Linked DNA regions of Homo sapiens: all the other regions are linked to region 5. Evidence: promoter capture Hi-C in 16 types of primary human blood cells and fetal thymus (Javierre and others, 2016). All regions are on one chromosome and are shown on one strand. Each heading gives the region's core, a stretch centred on a gene start or on the middle of the fragment in contact. The rest is flanking DNA. Distances are from core to core; before and after follow the strand shown. Region 1 overlaps ANKRD33B (ankyrin repeat domain 33B). Region 2 holds the start of DAP (death associated protein). Region 3 overlaps DAP (death associated protein). Region 4 overlaps DAP (death associated protein). Region 5 holds the start of CMBL (carboxymethylenebutenolidase homolog). Region 6 overlaps ANKRD33B (ankyrin repeat domain 33B).

What was found. Contacts are between HindIII fragments. The CHiCAGO score rates a contact against its expected background, and 5 or more counts as called.
Region 1: a fragment that was not itself captured here is called in contact with the fragment with the promoter of CMBL in region 5 in 1 of 17 cell types (neutrophils); the score reaches 5.6 in neutrophils.
Region 2: a contact is called between the fragment with the promoter of DAP here and the fragment with the promoter of CMBL in region 5, in 12 of 17 cell types (non-activated CD4 T cells, activated CD4 T cells, total CD4 T cells and 9 more). The highest score is 14.4, in non-activated CD4 T cells.
Region 3: a fragment that was not itself captured here is called in contact with the fragment with the promoter of CMBL in region 5 in 1 of 17 cell types (neutrophils); the score reaches 7.4 in neutrophils.
Region 4: a fragment that was not itself captured here is called in contact with the fragment with the promoter of CMBL in region 5 in 1 of 17 cell types (activated CD4 T cells); the score reaches 5.5 in activated CD4 T cells.
Region 6: a contact is called between a fragment that was not itself captured here and the fragment with the promoter of CMBL in region 5, in 6 of 17 cell types (total CD8 T cells, erythroblasts, neutrophils and 3 more). The highest score is 6.7, in total CD8 T cells.

What each region holds. Positions count from the first base shown.
Region 1 is chr5:10,654,410-10,658,169 of GRCh38, reverse strand. ANKRD33B (ankyrin repeat domain 33B) reads right to left here. Exons shown (of 4, transcript NM_001164440.2): 4 at 354-3,760. Among named protein-coding and RNA genes, the nearest start is that of ANKRD33B, 92 kb to the right of the region's middle. RefSeq lists an enhancer at 1,089-2,037. The HindIII fragment of the contact is 7,367 bases long and covers 1-3,760 here.
Region 2 is chr5:10,759,470-10,762,740 of GRCh38, reverse strand. DAP (death associated protein) reads left to right here and starts at 1,507. Exons shown (of 4, transcript NM_004394.3): 1 at 1,507-1,727. The coding sequence starts at 1,673. It overlaps DAP-DT (DAP divergent transcript), which reads right to left and starts at 1,705. Exons shown (of 3, transcript NR_187555.1): 1 at 1,525-1,705. RefSeq lists silencers at 972-1,441, 1,522-1,951 and an enhancer at 604-1,449. The HindIII fragment of the contact is 9,246 bases long and covers 1-3,271 here.
Region 3 is chr5:10,688,962-10,692,493 of GRCh38, reverse strand. The region is part of intron 2 of DAP (death associated protein); the gene reads left to right. Among named protein-coding and RNA genes, the nearest start is that of DAP-DT, 70 kb to the left of the region's middle. The HindIII fragment of the contact is 1,158 bases long and covers 1,442-2,599 here.
Region 4 is chr5:10,727,532-10,731,016 of GRCh38, reverse strand. All of the region lies in intron 2 of DAP (death associated protein), which reads left to right. Among named protein-coding and RNA genes, the nearest start is that of DAP-DT, 32 kb to the left of the region's middle. RefSeq lists enhancers at 1-32, 3,167-3,485. The HindIII fragment of the contact is 5,093 bases long and covers 1-3,485 here.
Region 5 is chr5:10,305,884-10,309,346 of GRCh38, reverse strand. It overlaps CMBL (carboxymethylenebutenolidase homolog), which reads left to right and starts at 1,445. Exons shown (of 6, transcript NM_138809.4): 1 at 1,445-1,722. RefSeq lists an enhancer at 1,667-2,167. The HindIII fragment of the contact is 4,286 bases long and covers 1-2,859 here.
Region 6 is chr5:10,618,214-10,621,877 of GRCh38, reverse strand. ANKRD33B (ankyrin repeat domain 33B) reads right to left here. Exons shown (of 4, transcript NM_001164440.2): 2 at 3,416-3,545. Among named protein-coding and RNA genes, the nearest start is that of ANKRD33B, 56 kb to the right of the region's middle. The HindIII fragment of the contact is 2,261 bases long and covers 314-2,574 here.

The DNA of each region.
Region 1 (3,760 bases), core at 354-2,853, 350 kb before region 5:
GTGTACCATTTAGGTAAAAGAACACATAGAAACTGAATTATATTCTTGTTTTTATGTATGTACATAAATTCATGGCAACATCCCTGAAGGATGCCCACCTGCCAGTGGGTTCTTCTGAGAAGAGGCAGATTGTAATGAGATCATCTGAACATGTGACAAACTATTTGTGGGGAACTCACAATTTTTAAATCTTACCTTTGAAAAATAAGGTGAAAGTTTGTCACGATAAGAAAGTGAACGTCTATTTCAATGAAAAGAAGTGACATGAAAAATCCTGGTATATTTCACTGTATCATTCTCTAATTTATACACACTTAAGTTTATTTAAATATCACACATTTGTACCATAAGAATGCGTTTTAACAAGTGATTTTTTATTCTTTAGCCACAATTCTCCCACATTTTTACATTATCCCTTTTTTCCATATTTTTTAAACATTAGATACATAATTTGTTAGAAGTTAAAAGGGAAAAACATTTTTTTCTGAATCATATCACATTATATTTAGCTTAAAGATTATTAACTTTTTGAATATCAAAAATTGAAGCTGCTGGGAATCACATTTATTTGTAGGTCCCAAAATAGCCCTGAGGTCTGAATAGGAAAATATCTTTTATAAACTATAACAAAACTCTCACCTCAAAATAAAACACTATGAAATTTACACAGTTATATCTGTACTCAGTATCTTTACAATATCCAGAAACCTACTGGATTATTAGAAATGACAATGCAAATAGGTTTACATTCAGAAAAAAAGAGAGCTTATACTAAGAGGACCTAACTTGAAACCTGGCACCCTGTGCAGGAATCTGTTCAATCCTTAGAACGGTCATAAAGTCATCTTTGTTAAAAACACAGGTCCTTGGACACCCCCAAATGTCGGGCAGAACAAAGAGAATTCCAGTACATTGGCTTTTAATGTTCATCTGAATGGGGTATTATTTTCAAATTCAGTCGGATGCCCCAAAGGCTCACGGGCTTGCTGGTCATATTTCTGGGCCTGTCATCGCCTTTTGCGGTTTTCATCAGGTGTATCCATAGCTGTGTAGTTCTAAATCAGCTTCTAGAACTTCTGCTCAAAAACTGGTGTTAAGGTGCCTCCATACCTACCTCCTCAAACTTCTTAAAGCATCAGGCCAACACGGACCATTGCTTTGATGGAAAGTTTCGTGGGGTTTTTTTTTTTCTTATTTAAAAACAATAGAGGGGTGTAGTATTATGACAAAACTAGTTCCCTCAAAAACTGAACTGTGTTAGCATTGATTAGAGTGTCTAATACATAGGCAGACTTGGGGAAATACCAGGGCTTCCTCAGGATATGGTGTTGATTCTGACGGTAACCTGCAGCCAAATGTCAAGGGCCATAGGCTGAATGCCTGGGGAGCTCTTCCAGGGGTAAAGAATCCTCTTGGGCCTGGGCCCCTCCAGGCAGCCAAGATAGGGCAGAGGCAGAGAGATGGCCCAGACCTGGCCAAATGGGTTCTATATGAGCCGCCTTTCAATAAAGACCTGGGCTGTGATGACCCCAGCCGTGTTCTGTGCCACAGCGGGCGGAGTGCTCACAGTGGGTCCTCGGGCCATGTGAGACCCCACTGAGTACACTGAACAACACGCCATCAAAGCAGGTTCCATCTGACACTGCCTGGGGCCCACAGCCAAGCTACAGCAGCATCGTAACCTTTGCCAGCACAAAGCCCAGTGTCCCTTTAGTTCATCTGGATGTATGAGTACACATACATGTGCTCGCCCGTGCACACACTCACAGCTTAGTGTACACTGTCCACATTGGCACTGCCTGCTGCCAAGGGCTGTGCCTTTTATCAAGTCTTAGTCAGGCTGGGTCAGCGTGAGGAAATTGTGTATGCAACACCGGCTTTCAGCTGAGTCGCTTGAAAATAAGTCAAAACAATCCAGGTACTGTGTGTTTCTTTTTCCTGTCTCTTTCAAAAACAACCTCCAGAGGAGTTTTTTTAGCCACTTATTTAAAATGTTAATGAAGGAACCTGTGAGTGCAAGGGCACAGAAATAAGCAGCTGACTCGAGTTATACCAGCGCATAAACAAGTTCCAAATGCACCGAGAGGCGTGGAGGGAAGATGCAAGCAGTGTCTTGAGAGGAACTGCTTTTGTTGTAAGCTCTCGGCAGCTCCCAGCATGACCGCTGCAATGGCATTCATCCCACTGCAGTTGTCATCAATGGGACTTTATTGTTTTAGAAAGATCTGTCATGGTCAGGGTCCCACCTGTCCTTCCCTGGACCGTGGCCCTCCAGGCAGTCCCATGCAGGTGCCGGCTGAAAGCGGCTGGGGTAGAAACCAAGGACCAGGCTGGAAGAAACAGGGCCCCCAGGTGTTTCCAAAGGGGAGCGCCGATTGCCAGGTGCAGAATCCACACAGTTACCCACCGTGGGAGGTGGAGGGACCTGGGCAAATCCCCGGGAAATGTGTTAGAATTTCCCCAAATACTGCAAAAGCGAAAAAGTGCTCGCGCTTTATCATGTGAAAGACTAGTAGTGTCCAGGAGCTGACACAGCACAGGGGGACTCTGACCACCGCAGGAACAGCGAGCTGTGTCAGGACGGAAATGAGCAAGCCTGCGTCTCCGGCGCACCTGGGGAAAGAGTAGTGCAGGGTGCACATCAGGGCTGTGACTCACTCCGCAGAGCACACTTGAGTCCCCAGGGTAAGGATGAACGGACAGCCTTCCCACGTCATGTAGTGTGGCCGGTGGGGCTGGGGGGAGTGTAGTGCTCTTGGAGGCGGGCTACCAGGGATGTGGCAGACCCACTTTTCAGGTCCCATTCATTTCCTCTCTGGGATACGTTTCATCATAATCACTCGGTACGCACGATTCTTCCCAACAGCCTGAAAACAGCAGGCTTTGCATCCTTTTCAGGCCTAGGGTCTGGCCCTATGCCAGGGGCTTCTGTTTCACTCACAACAGCCTCGTCTCCGCTCCTGAGACCTGGTCACCGCCAACAGCAGGGAGAGAAGCGGGCAGAGGGGCCTAGCACGGCCCTCCTGCATCCATAAATCCTATTTTCCAACCAACATCACAAACTCTCTCTCTCCTGCTCCCAGGAGGAGCCTCTTGCCTCAGGAGTGGCCACACTGAGATGACAAAGCCATTACAATTCTGATCTCCATAGTCCTGAGGTCTCCAGTGCTGCCAGGAGTCTGTCAGGAGGAGCCTGAGAGGAAGGAAGATGTCCACGATGTTCCCAAGTGCGGCCAAGGGGCAGCCTCTGCACATCGAGTAATTCCAGATGAATGGCTCCGTGCTGTTCCCTCCTCTTTTCTGGTGAGTTTAGTGCTGGGCTGACTGTAGAACACTTTATTCACAGAAGCAAGTAGAAAAAATTGTCACTCTTAGTTCACGTGCTCCAACGTCAGACCGGGAGCGGCCGGTTCTGGAGGGAAGAGCGAGGACTGGCCTATCTGTATTCTCATCAGCCGCCTCCATGCACACGGAGGTGCATTTCATTGTTGTTGATACACACGTTCCATCCAGAAGAGGCAACTCAGAGGGACTGAAGCAACTTCACACCTACCCCAAAGCCATTTCTGCCACCAGAGTCCCCCATCTCCAATCACCAAGGAAGTCTCCATCAAGGGTGAGCTCCAGGCATCTCAGTTGTCATCAGCAGCATCGACATTGTCTGAGAAATATTTCTTCTGTCCAGTTAAAGCATAATTTACTCAAACACTAAAAAGTAGTAAAATAGACTTCAACTTTTCCTCTAACTATATTTATATAT
Region 2 (3,271 bases), core at 258-2,757, 450 kb before region 5:
CATTGGATCTGGCAGCACATAGGTTATAAGTGACTTCCACAAAAGGACCTCCCATGGTTGAGGGCAGTGCAGCAGAACTTGATGAAAACCAGACAAACTGGACTGGAGGGAGTGACAAGAGATGAGGAGCTCAGCCTCCCTGAACAGTTTTGTTGTCAAAGGGAAAAGTACAGCCAAGCGAGGGGTGGTGTTTCCTTCGCTAAAGAGATTAGGCCTGTCTGAATGCGAATCCAGCAAGGCATTGCGGAAGTTAACAGCAGTTGCAAAACACTGGGGCAGGCGGGAAGAACACGATCCAAGGCACGAGAGCCAGGGGTCAGCCACGGCAACAGGAAGATGATGGTGAAAACCAAAAGTTTCTGAGAGTGGTCTCAATTTAGGAAGTTTATTTTGCCAAGGTTAAGGACGTGCATTGACACAACCTCAGGAGGTTCTGATGACATGTGCCCAGGGTGGCCAGGAAACATCTTGGTTTTATACATTTGAGGGAGACATGAGACATCAATCAATACGTAAGATGTAGGTTGGCTCTTTAGGAGGTAAAATGTGAAGTGGAGGCGTCCGGGTCATAGGTACATTTAAAGGTTTTCTGATTGGCAACTGGTTGAGAGTTATCATCTAAAGACCTGGACTCAGTAGAAGGGAATGTCCGGGTTGCATGAAGGAGTTGTGGAGACCAAGGTGTTATCATGCAGATGAAGCCGGGAATACACTGCAAATGTTTCTTATCAGAGTCCTCTATTAGTCTTAGGGTCTCCGTGCGGATGTTTGTGAGGCCATGTTTGACTTCCGCTTCCCATCAAGGCCTGAACTAGTTTTTCAAGATAACTTAGAAGGCCACAGGCGGAGGGGAGGGTCCATCCGTTGGCTGCAGGGCTTAGAATTTTATTTTTGGTTCATAACGAGGAGGGCAGGGACAGAAGCCACCGTCTCTGCTCCCCAGCGCTGGCCCTCACTCGGAAAGCAGGCTCTCCCCTCGCATCGTCTTTTAACAAATTCCTGCTCTCTCGGCCCCCGTCGCTGCCATCTGGGCTCTCCTTTCCGCGCTTCATTAGGCGCTGCCGCGGCAGGGGCTGAGGGCCTCAGGGGACGGTCGCCTCCCTGCCGGGACGCCCCGGCCCTGGCCCGCACTGTGGGGCGCAGTCACCCAGCCGTCGCCGCGTAGCCAGGAGCCCGGCTGAGCGCGTTCGCTGCAGGAGCCATCCTCAGCTGGGCCCTACTTAACTTTCCGCAACTCCAGTCCCCGCAGCCAGTCGGGGACCCCGCCTCCCTCTCCTTCCTTCTCCCTCTCACTTCTTCACCCCTTCTCTCCCCTCCCTCCTCCGCCCCCGCCCCCGCCCCCGCCCCCGCCCCCGGCCACAGCATCCGACGTGGCGCGGCCGGCTGCGCACGCACCGTATGCTTGGCTCGCGGCCCAGCAGGGCGGGCGGGCCGCGGTGACGTCAGTGCGCATGCCGTCGGTGGGCTCGGCTGCGCCACGTCGGCGCGCGGCGGCCGCGCCCCCTTAACGGCAGTGGCACTCACCCGGCTCGCGCGGCCCCGGCGCCCCACGCGCGCGCGTCGTTCTCCCGCCCGCTCGCTCCCCGGCGCTCACACCTGAGCTCACTCGCGCACGCCCGCCCGGCCCGAGAACCGCGCCGCCGCCTCGGCCCCGCGGAAGCCCCGCCGCGTCATGTCTTCGCCTCCCGAAGGGAAACTAGAGACTAAAGCTGGACACCCGCCCGCCGGTACTGACTCTTTTCCTCTCTCTCCACGCGCGGGTGCCGGGGGCGGGCTCGAACCCGGGGGCGCCGGGCGGGGGCTCCGCGGGGAGGGCCCCGGCGAGCGCTGAGACGGGTTCCGGGCCTTGATGCCCGCCCGAGGGGCGCGGGCCGCGGAGAGGTCGGGCGCCCAGGCCCGGGAGGAGCCCGCCGGAGCTTCGGCCCCGCTTGCCGGCGGCGGCGAAGCGTTTCTTCCTGAGGACCGCGGGCGGCCGCGTACCTGTGCGATTGCGCGCAGGCTCCGGTGCCTTGGGCGAACCCAGTTGCACAACTTATAACAAAGTTTTGGCGGATAATATTTACTTAGAGGATACAGATGTCTAGAAAGAAAGTAGCAGAAGCAATGAAAAGTCAGTGGTGTTAATATCATGGTGATGATTAATTAGAGGCTGCCAGCGTTTCATACCGACTCAAGAACCAAGGAGCGGAAATAATTTTTATCATTAATCACTCAATATGACTTTCACCGCCAGTTTCTTCCACATCCAGATTTTTTTTTTCCCCCAAAGTTGCTTTTTCTGATTTTGAGCAAATCCTAAACTTCTGAGCCAAGGAAGTTAAAGCCAGGAAAGAGCGGTCTTTCTTAGAACATAGGGATCTAAGCAGCCTTCATGCTTCTGCCACCTCCTCCTCTCTCTGGGCACAGTTCCTGTTTGCACTTTGGATTCTGTCCAGACGGGTCTGTTTCCGTTTCTACTCTCCTTTCCAGTGGCAGTCGGCCCATATGGAGGGACACTGGTGAGAAGATCAAAGGCCTTGGGTCTCAGAAGCCAAGTCACTTCAATGTATGGATGCGTGAGGTTCTTTTAGGTCTTAATAGCACGCCTTAGTGTCATAAACTCAGTCTTGTAGGAACAGAAGTCTTTGAGAAACATGGCTTCTTTTGGTGGCACATTTGCGCCATTTTCTTGACAATAAAGATTCCTGGCCAGGCGCGGTGGCTCATGCCTGTAACCCCAGCAGTTTGGGAGGCCAAGGAGGGTGGATCACTTGAGGTCAGGAGTTCAAGACTAGCCTGGATAACATGGTGAAACCCCATCTCTACTAAAAGTAGAAAAATTAGCTGGGCATGGTGGCGGGCGCCTGTAATCCCAGCTATTCAGGAGGCCGAGGCAGGAGAATGGCTTGAACCCGGGAGGCAGAAGTTGTAGTGAGCCAAGATTGAGCCAAAGCACTCCAGCCTTGGCGACAAAGCGAGCGAGACTCCATCTCAAAAAAAAAAAAAAAAAAAAAAAAGATTCCCATTATCCTTCTCTGCTGTCCTCCGCTATAGGGCGGGAATTCTCTGCACCAGCACAATGAATAGGAGCCGTTCTTTAAATATGTTGCAGTCCAGAGTAGGCAATATTTTTCAGTGGTGACGGAGGCTCTCTACAACAAAACTAACTGGCACTGGGAAAGAAAAATGTCTAACTGATGCCAGAGAACTTAAGAGGCATGGGGTTTTAGAAAATCATTCCACTGTGATGGAAAATGGTTTTGGGGGAATTTGTGTTGCATTGGTTTTAAGA
Region 3 (3,532 bases), core at 771-3,270, 380 kb before region 5:
CTAAGTGCAGGGAGACAGAATCCGGCCCACCTGGGAGACATCCAGGCGGCCCCCACTGAAGGCCCTTAAGCTCTCAACTGCGAAAGGATGAAGGTATAGATTGCAGCAGCCGTCTGCCTGGTAGGGAACCTCCTGTCCAGCTCTAACTCACAAGAGTGCATCGCTTTACACCTCTCAGAACTGGGGCAGAAACCAGGCTGTCAGAGCACCACGATGATGAGGGAGGGTGTAAAGCCTTAGAACACAAAAGAATGTTAAAAGTCTTCTCAATTTTTATATGAGTTACATGTTGGGGTAGCAGTAACTTGAATATATTGAGTTAAATAGTTGCTGTTTGGGAGTTTAGGGAAGTTTTAAAACTATGAATTTGGGTTTCTCAGCCCTTTCCACATTCCTTTAAAGATGAGACCATCAAACTCAGTCTTGATGATATCTGCATTCCACAGGGTTACTCAGTCACTGAGCGTTTCTGGCATTTTATCCTGTCTGTCTGCAGTTTCCACAGAATGCCAATAAGGTATAAATCTTCATTAAGAAAATTTAGAAAATAAGTAATAGCAAACTTTTGTTAAGGACAAAGGGTCCTTTTAAGAGTTTGATGTGGTCCTTGCCAGATGGACAATAGAGACCCACGTGCACGGACATCAGGTGGCTGCTTAGTCTGGGTGTGAAAAAGCTGCAGTTTCTGCTAGTGTATAGGAAGTGTTATCTGGATTCTAATCCTGGCTAATTCTGCCTGGCTTGCAGTTCTTTTCAATTTAAATAAGTGTAGTTTTTAAAGTCTGGAAAGGCCTGAGGATATGGGGCGGGCAGGGTTGATAGTTTTCACTCTCTGTTTCCTGAGAGAAAATAATGTTGCATCTTCAAAACAGCATCTGTCAGAATGATTTTCATCAGATTAAATAAATCCTCAAAGCAGCTATCATACTTCTTAGACTTGAGAAATGTAGGTTATACTTTGCATGGAAGCCTAATGGCATTTAAAATAGGTGTGTTTTGCATGTACAGCCTTACACCCAGACCTTTGACTGGGGTTTCTCGCTTGTGAGATTTTGTTCAAGCTACCACATCTCAAAGAGTTTAGTAACTGTTTTTACTTTATAAACGTCATAAATAATTATTTGCCAATTTAAGTTGCTGTTAATTATAGTTGGAAAAAAGGATTGGGCTCTGAAGCCTTTGGGCCAAACTTGATGAAAACCTTCAACACAACATACGCTCTGTCACGGGACAAGTTACATGAAAATACATATCGCTGTTAGACATTTTGGAAGAGGCCTGCCTTTTGCCATCTTTTCATGGGCAGCTGCCATATGTCCTTACAGCCAATTATGGCCTTTTCAGTTTTAGAGAAGAATTTTGGGGGCGACTTTTGGTTCATAAAGACCTTTAATGAATGATCAATACAGATTGATATTTATTATTCTGTGGCAGGGAAGCTTATTCTTAAAATTAGTTGCTAAATCTAAACCACAGTACGATACTTCCTCACACCCATTAGAATAGAGCCTTTATCCAAAAAAACAGAATAAAACAAAACAGAAAACAACGAGCGTTGGCAGGGATATGGGGAAATAGGAACCCATGTGCGTTGCTGGTGGGAATCTAAAATGGAACAGCCGCTGTGGAAAACAGGTTGGTGATTCCTCAGAAAGTTAAACACAGAATTACCATATAACCCAGCAATTCCACTTCTGAGTTACACACAAAATAATTGAAAGTAGAAACTCGAGCACATATTTATACACCCACGTCCATAGCTGCACCATTCGCAGCAGTCCAGGTGTCCATCAGCAGATGAATGGATAAGCAGAATGTGGTCTGTCTGTACAGTGGAATGTTATTCAGCCTCAAAAAAGAATTCCCACACATTCTGCAACATAAATGAACCTTGACAATATTATGCTAGATGGAATAAGCCAGACACAAAAAGACAAGTACTGTATGATTCCACTTACATGAGATCCCTAGGGCAGTTAAACTCACGGTGATGGCCAGGGGCTGGGAGGAGGAGAGAATGGGGAGCTAGTGTTTAATGGGGACAGACTTTCTGTTGGGAATGATGAAAAAGTTCTGGAAATAGATAAAGGTGATGATAGCATAATAATATGAATATACTTAATGCCACTGAACTGTATACTTAAAAATGGCTAAAATGGTACATAATTTTTTTGTAATTAGTTGCTGAGCTGGCTGGGGTTTCAAAGCGAAGTTAGAAGGGAGGGAGAGCTTGGACTGTCTTTAGGAAGAACGTTTGCCTTGAGCAGACCAGAGCTAAAGGAGACCCTCAGTCTGGTGTCCTGTCACTTCCCGCCGAGTCGCCTCTTGCGGCTCGATAAGACTTTCTCATGCAACACAATTCTTGAATATTGTGTAAAAAGTGCAGTCTTAAAGCAAGGACCTCGCCTGCGGAAGTGCTGGACACATGGGGTTCTTTTCTTTCAGTGCCTTATTTCTTACCAGTGCCAAACAGATGGGGGCGCTGGAGCACAGCAGTGCAGGATGAAGTCTCAGGCCTTCATGTTGTTCTTCCCCAGGTTAATTAGGTGGAATGCACACTGTTTTGGTTGTGCCCCAAGAGACTGCTCTGACCTAAGCTTGCCACTGAGTGACATTCCCTGTCCCTGCTCCTCAGCTCGGAGTCAGCCCTCAGGGTGTGCACAAGGGCAAGTTCACGGCCTTTCCATCCTGAGTGAGTCCCTTTGACTGCGGCATCAGACCCTCAGTCTTGCCATCACTCAGCCAAGTCGCCAGCACCACATCCAGCAGAATGACTAGCCACTTTGTATAGGATGCAGCACAAAGGACACCAGTCCCTGGCTCATCGCCACACCCGGTGGGCCTCACCTCACCCCTCGCCACCCAGTGGTTGGCAGAGGCACATTTCTTATGCTGAGCCTAGCATGATTTTCATTGACATCCTCTGTCTTTATGAGCAGAATCCACCAAGCCACTAAAGCTCAGCAGATTCAGTCATGACTCAGCACAAAGGAGCTATCTCCGTGAATTTGGGGTTTCACAAGGACAGCGCCATCTGTGAATGACTCCTGTGGACTCTTAGACGCTGCAACCTGCAACCATGGCCCTGGACACTCCTGGAATGAGCTGGGCCTGTGGGGGGAGGGTCATTCTTACTGCTGGGGGTCTCCTTTAGCCCCCAGGGTCTCCATGGCCATTCAGCAGTTGCGATGGGACAGTGTCTTGAGCAGCTCACATGGGAGTGAGGTGCTAAATGTGGGTTTAGGAAAGGAAAGAGCGTGCCCTGGGAGTCAGAGGCTGGTTTCTAGGCCTCAGCTTCCGTGTGTGTTTTCCAGCACTCAGGCTAGAGCAGAGCTGTCATGATCTCATATCATCACTGTTCACACACATTTCTCCGGGTACATACTCGAGGCATAGAACCCCACCCTTGTCGTGATCAATGCAGGAGACGCCCAGAGGACAGCACCTCTGAGGAGCACCGAGGGCAGGGAGGAAGGGCGGGACTGTGGCAGGCCCCTGGGCTCCAGACTCCCGTCCTCAGTGCACACAGGGG
Region 4 (3,485 bases), core at 563-3,062, 420 kb before region 5:
AAAGATTCCCCCCCACCAGGGCTCTCAATAGAGAAAGATTCCCCCCACCATGGCTCTCAGTACAGAAAGATTCCCCCTCACTAGGGCTCTCAGTAGAGAAAGATTCCCCCTCACTAGGGCTCTCAGTAGAGAAAGATTCCCCCCACCAGGGCTCTCAGTAGAGAAAGATTTCCCCCCCACCAGGGCTCTCAATAGAGAAGGATTCCCCCCACCAGGGCTCTCAATAGAGAAGGATTCCCCCTACCAGGGCTCTCAGTAGAGAAAGATTCCCCCCACCAGGGCTCTCAGTACAGAAAGATTCCCCCTCACTAGGGCTCTCAATAGAGAAAGATTCCCCCCCACCAGGGCTCTCAGTAGAGAAAGATTCCCCCCTACCAGGGCTCTCAATAGAGAAAGATTCCCCCCGACCCGGGCTCTCAGTACAGAAAGATTCCCCCTGACCCGGGCTCTCAGTACAGAAAGATTCCCCCTACCAGGGCTCTCAATAGAGAAAGATTCCCCCCGACCCGGTCTCTCAGTACAGAAAGATTGCCCCAACCAGGGTTCTCAGTAGAGAAAAATTCTTCTCGACCAGGGCTCTCAGTAGAGAAAGATTCCCCCCCACCGGGGCTCTCAGTCCCCCACTCTTGTAGTAGATTTGTATAGGACAGGGTTTCGTGTCCTCATAATTTTTTCAGCAGCAGCCCTTAGCTGTTTTCCCTGGCACGCACATCTGAGCATCCACTCGCTGCACGTGGGCATTTGCTTATTCCCCTGATGTCTGTAAGTGCCTCGTCTGTGCCAGGTACTCTACACAGTGGGGACACATTAGTGAGCAAAACAAAATCCCTCTTCTCACAGGGCAGCCATGCCACTGGGAACAACAGATGATAAGCACATGGACAGCTGAAGATGAGCTGTGGCAAGTAGACTTAGCAATGCTGCAAAGAAAGCACAGAAGGCAAGGGGCAGTGAAGGGTCTTTATCTCCTGAGAAAACCGCCTGTGAGGACAGCCTGATTGAATTTTCGTAACCACCATTAATGGTAGCCAAGGCCTTCTGCAGAATGCATGTGGAAAGAGGAAATGAAGACAGATGCTAGGGTAGCTGTCCCAGGACACAGCTGTGCAGGCAGGGTCCTCGTGGGCCCACAAGTGCATGCTGGAGCTCGCCAGGCAGGCTCTGGCAGTTCCTGGATGTCTGAGCACTTCTGCTTCACTGTTAACTTGGGGTCGCCGTAAGGATGAATTTTCTGTTAAGGGGAACTGGAGTAGCATCTCTGTGGACATGGCTTCAGGATGTATGGGCAAGCCTGAGGCTAAGGATCCTGCAAACTAGGCACGATCAAGAGTGTTTGGTGTGCTAGTCAGAATGTGGTTGGCTGTAGTTGCTCTGGCATTCTAGGTAGGGACAACCGAAGAAAGAACACTGGAAAATAGGGGACATCTTTGGTATTCCAAGAATTTGACAAAACCTCTAACTAGATCACTTTGAATTTATCTAAGTCAGGAATAAAGAAGATTATAAATGACATCTGTTGAGCATTCCTTTGTAGCAGTTTCAGAGTGATAATGAAATTTAGGGCAATCTTGGCCAATCTAAATTAAGAGAAGTAATTGCTGTTTACTTTTTGGGGGAGCATCGTGGGAGGTAGGAAATGAAGGGGAGGGAAGCTAAGATGATGGAGTAGAAATACACATGTTCTGATATGGGTGCCTATTTTCAAAGATGGTGGTGGGGTATAAAGTTTGTTTGATTATAAGAGCATGAATTCATTGCATTTATCTAACATTCCTACCTACAGAACAGCAGAGCATGACCTCTGTAGCTAAGGTTAACTTTCAGCTATACCTGGCTTCAGTGGAAAGTGGGCATGAGGGAATTGTTTTGACATTTTTGAAACCTACACTCTTTGTGGGAAAAGGGTTGTTGATACCCTGCAATATTAAATAAGTTCCGTGGGTTGAGAAAAAAACTAGGACAATTAACAACATGGATGTTGTCAATTAACATGCTGTTTAATTAACATGAGAAAGTTGATACTCTTTGAACCTAAAAGAGCACATAGAATTTCGATAGGTGGAAATATGGTGAATCTGTACTGGTTGGGGGAACAGCATCAATGTTCATTTTGAAAAAAGCAGAATAAATGATGTCATTGATTCTGGGGATGGGGCTGACTGGCCCTCTCCCCCTGCCTCTTCCTCTCCGCATCTCTCCCCCCAATTCATTCACACTTTGACACAAGGGTGCCACGTAGGGGTATCTCTCCAGACCTTCTTCGTGGGTTAGCCCCTCAGCCCCCTGTCCAGTGCTGTGGTCGTGATCGAAAGTTGTATCTAAGGCAAGACATGTTTTTCCTAGTGTGTGATTAATTTGAACCCAGGAGTTTGGTGATTGTATCTGTTTACTTGGACTTACTGGAAGGTCAAGTTTTCTCAAGAACATTAACAAATCAGTAAAATTATCAATTAGTAGCACTGCTTTAATTTCTTAAACTCAGAATTGACTTGTCCATACATCCGTTTATATTTAATTTCCCTGAAGCTCTGAAAATAGGGCAAAAGAACATAGTCTTGGTCCATCAGAGGTCTTCTTTTTTGTCTTTTTGGCCTATCCTTTGGGCTCAGTCTAAATCTTTCCCCCAGGATTTTAAGTAACTCCACACTTAAGGTTTCTAAAAAGTAGCAGTGATAGCTGAAAACCTAATACAGACTGAAAATGAATGGGAAGTTCATATAAATCAGTCATAAACACATCAAATTCCCAGTGAATTCAAAAGAAGATGAACAAATAATTCTCAAAAGAATAAATATTTGTAAACAAATATTAGTAAATAAATACAAAAAAATAGCATTTCACTTTCTGATATCCAGGAAAAAAAAGTAAGTTACAACCGCCTTCATGTTCTTTTCTTTGCCTGTTAATCATAGACAGTCAGCCTTCTGTATCTGTGGGTTCTGCATCCAAGGGTTCAACCCACGGCAGAGTCACCCAACTGTGAACTGAAAATATTCAGGAAAAAAATGGATGATTGCATCTGTACTGAACAGGTACAGACTTTTTTTTCTTGTCACTGTTCCCCAAACAATACAGGATAACAGCTATTTACATAGCATTTACATCGTATCAGGAATTGTAAGTAACTGGAGATGATTTAAAGTATATGGGAGGATGTGTGAAGGTTATATGCACATACTACACTATTTTATATCAGGGATGTGAGCATCTGTGGGATTGTGGTATCCACAGGGGTGCTGGAACCACTCTCCCATGGATGCCAAGGGATGACTGCATAGATTGGATATCTCAATTTATACTCCCAGAAACATAGCAGATTGCCTACATACAGCACACCATTTTCGTCCCTCAAACTCTGCTCCCCTTTCCATCTTGTTACTAGGCTCTCATAACTTGGATATTGAGTTGTCCAAGCCAGAACCAGGGAATCAACATGTATTTCTCCCTCTCCCCAGTCCCCCCCATCTAAACCCTCAGAATGAAGT
Region 5 (3,463 bases), core at 196-2,695:
GGGACCACTGCACTCCAGCCTGGGCGACACAGCGAGACTCTGTCTCAAAAACAGCAACAGCAACAACAACAACAAAAACATCATAGATAGACTTGGGTAGCTTAAACAACATTTATTTCTTATAGTTCTGGAAGTTGGAAGTCTGGGATGGGCCAGCAGGATTGGGTTCTTGGTGAGTATCCTCTTCCTGGCATACAGATGAGGAAGCAAGCTCCCTTGCCTCTTTTTGTAACGGCACAAATCCCATTCTTGGGGGCTCCACCCTCATGACCTAAGCATCTCCCAAAGGCCCCGCCTCCAAATACCACCATGGGCGGGGTGGTTAGGATTTCAACGTACAAATTTTGGAGGGGACACAAACATTCAGTCCATAACAACACCTTTGCAGTGGGGATGGCAGGAAGTGCGGCCACCACGGTGCAATGGCTTTTTAATGTGCCCATTTGTCCAGGCTGAGCTATATTCCTAGAATTCCCTTTTCCTGTATGTTTCCAGTTTGAGTGAGCCACAGGGGTGTGCTTCTGCAGCCAAGTTGAAGCTGTTGTCATAACCTTGGGCAGATGACCAGAGAAAATACGAAGGAGGCAAGTATGAAACGTGTATTAATTTCTTTTTTAAAAAAAGGCTTAATTTGGGGCTGGGGCCGGGTGCGGCGGCTCACGCCTGTAATCTCGGCAGTTTGGGAGGCCGAAGCAGGTGGAACACTTGAGGTCAGGAGTTCGAGACCAGCCTGGCCAACACGGTAAAACTCCGTCTCTATTGAAAACACAAAAATTAGCTGGGCGTGGTGGCGCGTGCCTATAATCCCAGCTACTGGGGAAGCTGAGGCAGGAGAATCACTTGAATCCGGGAGGTGGAGGTTGCAGTGAGGTTGAGGTTGAGATCGTGCCACTGCACTCCAGCCTCGGCAACAGGGTTAGACTCCATCTCAAAAAAAAAAAAAAAAAAAAAAAAAATTGTGGCTGGGCATGGTGGCTCACACCTGTAATCCCAGCACTTTGGGAGGCTGAAGGGGAGGATCACTTGAAGCCAGGAGTTCGAGGCTCCAGTGATCTATGATTGTGTCACTGCACTCCAGCCTGGGTGACAGAATAAGACCCTATCTCTAAAATAAAATAAAATAAAATAAAATAAAATAAAATAAAATAAACAAAAAATAGCTTAATTTGTATTTACAACAGAAGTTACTTGTCTTGGAAGCCAGGCACGCACGTAAATCTCACAGAAGGCTGGCTGTCTTCCTTCTCCTGGCCTCCCTGCCTCCTCCCTCAAGGCTGCCTGATTCTCTTCTCCCTTCCTCTCTGCGGTTCCCTCCCTCCCACCCCCTCTCCCTGCACCTTTCTTTATCTTGGAGCCTCTCCCATCTCTCCCTCCCTCTTCCTCCCTACCCCACCCTCCGACCACCCCACTTCTTCCCCTCCCCTCACACTTCCCTCCCTCCCTTCTCTCGTCTCCTCCCCACTGCGCCTCCCTCCCTCCTGGCCTTCCTTCCCTTCCCCGACTTTGCAGATTTCTCTTCCCCCAGGCCTCCCTCCTCCACCTCTCCGCCCCCTCCGGGCTTGGCTCTCCCAGGAGGCTACGACTGGAGCCACTGGTCCCGCAGGATCCCCGCGTCCTCGGTCGCCGCGTCCACGTCCCTCTCGCGTCCCCGCCCGGCGCCACGCCGCCTCCTCTGGGTTCGGCCTCCGCGCGGTGCAGCGCAGTCTCAGGCCGCGGGACAAGGTACGTGCGCGTCCCCGGGGCACACAAGCCCACACAAGCCCGGGCCCCGCTCCTCTGAACTCCCGCGTGTGTTCTGACTATGGCAAAGAAGGTCTTTGCCGCGTGCACGGGTAAGGAACTTCCCATAGTCCGTTTTCAGAAGCTGACTTTCATAAAAGTGATACGTTGTCCTTGCAGAACAGCAGCCTCCACGATCCCATGCGTCCGAAGCAGCCGCTGTTTACATTTTGGTATTTTCCTGTAGGTGTTTCGCCATGCATTTTAAAGACATAGTGGAAATCACACCGTATGCAAACTTGCGTTCGTTTTGGCCATTTAGCACGGAGGAGCCTTTCCACCATGCCGTTAAATACTCCTTGTAACTCTCTTCCTGCAGTGAGACATTCTGGTTGTAGCGTTTTTACTAATATAAAACTATTAAAAAACTGAGCATATTTGCAACTAAATCAGCATCCACATTCGACAGCTTTTCTTTAGGGTGGGTATTAAGAAGAGAGGTGCTGGGTCTATGGATCTAAGAGTGGGACATCCTAAATGCTGGGTAGGTGTGCCAGGAACGACTGGACAGTTTACACCCCACAGCCATGTGGGTCGGGCAGGCCTTGGAAACACTGGGCACTGAGATTTATGTCCACTTGCTGATGGAAGATGCCACCTGTTGTTTTCAAAGCCCATTTAAAATAAAGTGGTTAGTAATGAGCCTCGCCGGTATCCGGGGAATCCTGTCCAGGCCTGGGAACCCTATCCAGGCCTAGGAACAGCCAGAGAAAAAGCAGATTCTGCAGGGGCGTCGTTGGCATGTCTAAGAGGGCCATTGTGGGCTCATCCAGGTAGCTTCCTAATTCATGCTATCTCGACCATAGACACTTGGAAAATACAAGCATGGCTGCTGAAAAATAAATATTTGGAGAAGTTTGATGTTTGTAGAATCATCTAAGGATAAGTACTGGCCCTGCCTTCCCTGCTGCAAGATTGAAAATCACTTGCCATGCAAGTTCCTACAATGTTTAAGCAGTAAAGGAGAAACCTCCTGCCTTTCCCATTAGACCCCACTTTCCTGTGTTGTCTTGGGGTCCTCTGTAACCCTGAGCCCTGGATGCACTTCCACGTGGTTTCTATTTCTAAATTTCTAAAGCTTCCAGAAATGTATTCCTCCCTTCTCTCCTCTCCTCCCCGCTGCGCCTCCCTCCCTCCTGGCCTTCCCTTCCCCTACTTTGCAGACCTCTCTTCCCCCAGACCTCCCTCCTCCTCCTCTCTGCCCCCTCCGGGCTCAGGCTCTCCCAGGAGGCTGGAGATGTATTCCTAGACTTCCCTGCTTGTTATAATCCCAACTGCACCAGTCCCTTTTGCTTGTCAAAATCTGTTTTCTCTATTTCTGTTGGAGAACTGCGTTGTGCCTGGAAGTCTGACTTGTGAGTTATTTGAATCCTTAGGGCGTGAAATCAGGAAAACCACACCCTCACCATACTTTATCACCTCTCTTACCTGTCTGACTGCCAGTGTTAGAAAGGGAATGTTTGATTACATTGTTAAAAGATAATTTTCAGCCAAAGGTGAAATCGTGACTTTTATACAGATATAAAAGTGATAAATATTTTATTTTATTCATTAAAGAGAGAAATAGGCAGATGTTGTAACTGGTTCAAAAAAGAAGTCAAGAAGTGCAAATGTATACGGAGTAAAGGAGTGCCTTGTGAAGGTACACGCAGGAGAGGAGCATACCCTTGGAATTTGCAGATCA
Region 6 (3,664 bases), core at 195-2,694, 310 kb before region 5:
CTTCCCCAAATCCCCACCTTCTAATGCATCACATTGGGAGTTGGGGTTTTAACATATGAATTTGAGGGGGAGGACATAAACATTCAGTCCATAACATCACCTTATAGAAAAGATAACCCACAACATTATATTCTATTGCCTTATAGGATATTAACCAGTTTTGCATCTATTAGCAGATGTATTTCAGCATTTGTGATTGCCTCTATGTGCCTGTTCTTCAAATTTCCTTTGAACTGGCCTTAACTAATTACTAGCCCATCACTAATTAATGAGTTTTCACTTTCTGTCCACCTAAGAGTCAAATTTTTAAGCTTTTGAAAATTATCCTTTAGTATCACCACTTTGTGCACATTTGTCGTAGGACAGGAAAATGGGTAAATGCATTGTGATTGCTGCAAACCAGGTTTCTTGCCGACAAAGAATGGGGGAAGCATATGGAAAGGGTGAAGAGGAGGAATACTATGGTGTTGCATTTGGATTGGAGGTATCCTTATTTTTTAAATATTTTTTTTTCTAACTCTGCTCACTGAAATGCCTAGAAGCAATAACATTTAGTGTGAATGAGCACAGCTAGAGTCCAGATTTTGGTTTCTAAATACCATTCCTCACTAAAAAAAGAACTATCATTCCTTGAAGATACAGCTGGTTACAGACAGGGACTGGGAAAGTCCAGGGAGAATGTGGAACACTTTGGTGTGCCATAAATCAAGAAAATACTCAAAACTGACAGAAATATGACAAAAGGACACTGGAGCCATCTTCAGGGTTACCAACTGGCTGGGTTTGGGATAACTTCAGCACTGAAAAGAACAAAGGCGTTATTGAAGTAGAACACACGAGATTTTTAAAAAATGAGTAATGGTACCAAAAAAAGGGTGGGGCTAAAGGAAAGCTCTTCTTTATAGAAAAATATCAGATAATAAGTGTAAAATAAATGATTCAGAAAAGGATTATCAATGGCAAAAACTGGTGGGGAAACAGGATATTCATACAATCTCTAAGTATCACCTTGCAGATTACTTACTAATTACAGAGGGGAAATATCTGCCTTTAAAATGGAGAAATGTAAGCAGTTCGTCAAATTTAGCATCACCCACACCAGGACACACTGGCAGTATGTGTCCTGATAGGACACACCAAGGACATATCATGGCCAATGCCATATTCTTGCCAAAAATATACGATGTGCTCCTGACTCTGAAGAAACAATCATGGGTGAATATAAAATCAAAACACCTGCAAACAGGCAAGACTCTGGAAAGCACCTCATGGGTATCAAAGCACAGCTATTATCTCTAACGCACAAAGAGCTCTGGCAGATCAGTAAGAAAAGAAATCCCCTCTTATCGTACATTCTCATATTGTCATGACCTAATCCTTGTCCCAGCTCTCACCAGCAACACCTGTCCCTCATCTGTATTTCTAGCAGGGACCAGATTTTGGAGCTCCTTCTCTTCCTGACTTGCCATGGAGACCTCTTTACTTAGAGGTCTCAGAGCATTTCAAAGTCATGATAGCCAGCTCAAAACCAATGTTCCTCCCATTCATCTTCTTTTACTTATATGCCCTTTGCAGTTGGTGTTATCCCCTGTCCCAAAGCCCAAAGCCATCCTAGACCCCCAGCTCTCCTCCATGGCCCGCATCACCACCACCGCCAACTGTGTTTCTAGCCACACAGCTCCCGGCCCTTCCCTGTGCTCTGAGCCCTCTGCTACGCCCCTGGGATCCTCTCACCCCTGTCACCACTCACGCAGCCTCACGCTACTGAAATACATTCCCTTGCATTGGGCTTAGACCCTTAATGGTCTGGTCCCCATCCTTCCCTCATCTCTCCTAGACACACGCCATCCTACAGCCATGCCCACCTACACTGTCCCTAAGACTCGCCATTCCTGAGAACTGCCCGGCTCCCTCTCAGCCCCAGCTCAAATCCCCTTCTTGCAAGACCTTATCATGAACTTCAGGCTAGATAGAGTGTTCTCATCCCACAGCACCAAGCTCCGGCAGACAGATGGTGCTGGGCTTCGTGTGTTTCTCTGTCCCATGAGCTGCAGAATTACTCAAGGACGGGGCTGCCCTGCACTTCTGTATCCTTGGTCCCTGACATGGCAGCTGGCCCACGAGAGGAAACGAATCACTGAATGCCTTACAAAGCCCTTTCACACTCTTGCTAGGTTTTCAAAGCCTGGAACCCTCCATGGAAGTGATGCCTCACGCTTCGAAACCTGAGGAGGTGAACACATGTTAGCACAGCCCCTGGCCCTTTCTAAGTTTGAAGAGTTCCCCCACTCTATTCGTCTTGATTGAAAAGTAGGGTGCCCAGACCACTCCCACCACAGGGGATGAAACTGTCAAACACTGGTTTTCCAGCCTCCCTGGCCCCCCACCCATCAGATCCACCCAGGGTGGCTTTGGTCCAGGAGCTTGTGAAGCAACAAGGGACAAGGAGGTCTCCTTTTGGTGACAGCAACAGCCATTTCCCAACCAGAATCAACATACAGTGTGGTCGGGGGCACTTCCTCCAGTTTCCAGGCCCTGAGTGGGATTCTCAACAACCCGACAACCGTGTAAGCTTCCCCTCCTTCCTTCAACACACAAGCGCCTGTTCTTCCTGGCTCAGCTGCAGGCAGCTTCTTTGCTTGCAACTGAGAACTTGACCGATGAAACAGACAGAATCTTTGGAGGCAAAGAAATGTGAAAGGGGTCAGTGATAAACCTGGTCAAGACCACTGTTCCAAATGAAGTGTGATTATGAAGAGGCAAGCATAGGTTTCATGTCTGTCCTCAAAAAAATGTCTGGATACAGTTCCAAAGCAGGAGAGTCGCAATGCACTTGGCAATATTGACATAAGCACTGTCTTCTTGATGACTGATGGGCTGAGGGCCACATGCTTGGATACCCGCTCACAAGATGCTCCCACTGACTTCATCTCAGCTTGTTACACGGATACTCTAACAGCTCTCAGAAACAGTTCCTGGCGTTTCTTTAACTCTACAGGTGAAGTGCAAAGTCACCTTCTACACGTGTCTACTTTCATGATTAACTATCACTGAGACACATGATTGTGTCTCTTCCACTGGTGGGTCTGCCAGCCTCGTGCCACCCCCAGTCTTCGGGAGCAGGATGGAGTGTGAGGCTTCAGGTGAAGCGGTGACAAGGGTGGCTTTCTGGTACAGATTCATATTCAAAAACTTTGGGCAGTATCGGAGCTTGATCTGCCCATACTGAATTCTGAACAAGTGGGTAAATGCATAGCGTGTGGTCACAGCAATCAGCCCTTCCCTGGCACCCCTTGGTAGCAGGACATGGTCTCTGATCATTTCCATCCTGACTGCATCGCAACGGGAGCCCGGGCTGCCCGGCGGCGGTGCTCTGGCCACGGCTCTGAGAGGAAAGGGGAAAGCCAGCTCTTACCTGCCTGTGCAGCTGTGATTAGGGCTGTGTTCCCCTCGCTGTCCTGCCAGTTGACGTCAACGTGGGGGCACTCTGCTAAGGCCACCACGGTATCCACAAAGCCGTGGTAGCAGGCGACAATAAGGCCGGTCTAGAAATGAAGAGGGGAAGCGGGTCAGAGGGGCAGAGTCGGAGCATGGTGGGTCAGCACTGGGGACCCCGAGGGGCACCCACTACCCTCCAGGGGGCTGGACAAGGCAATGACAGGGA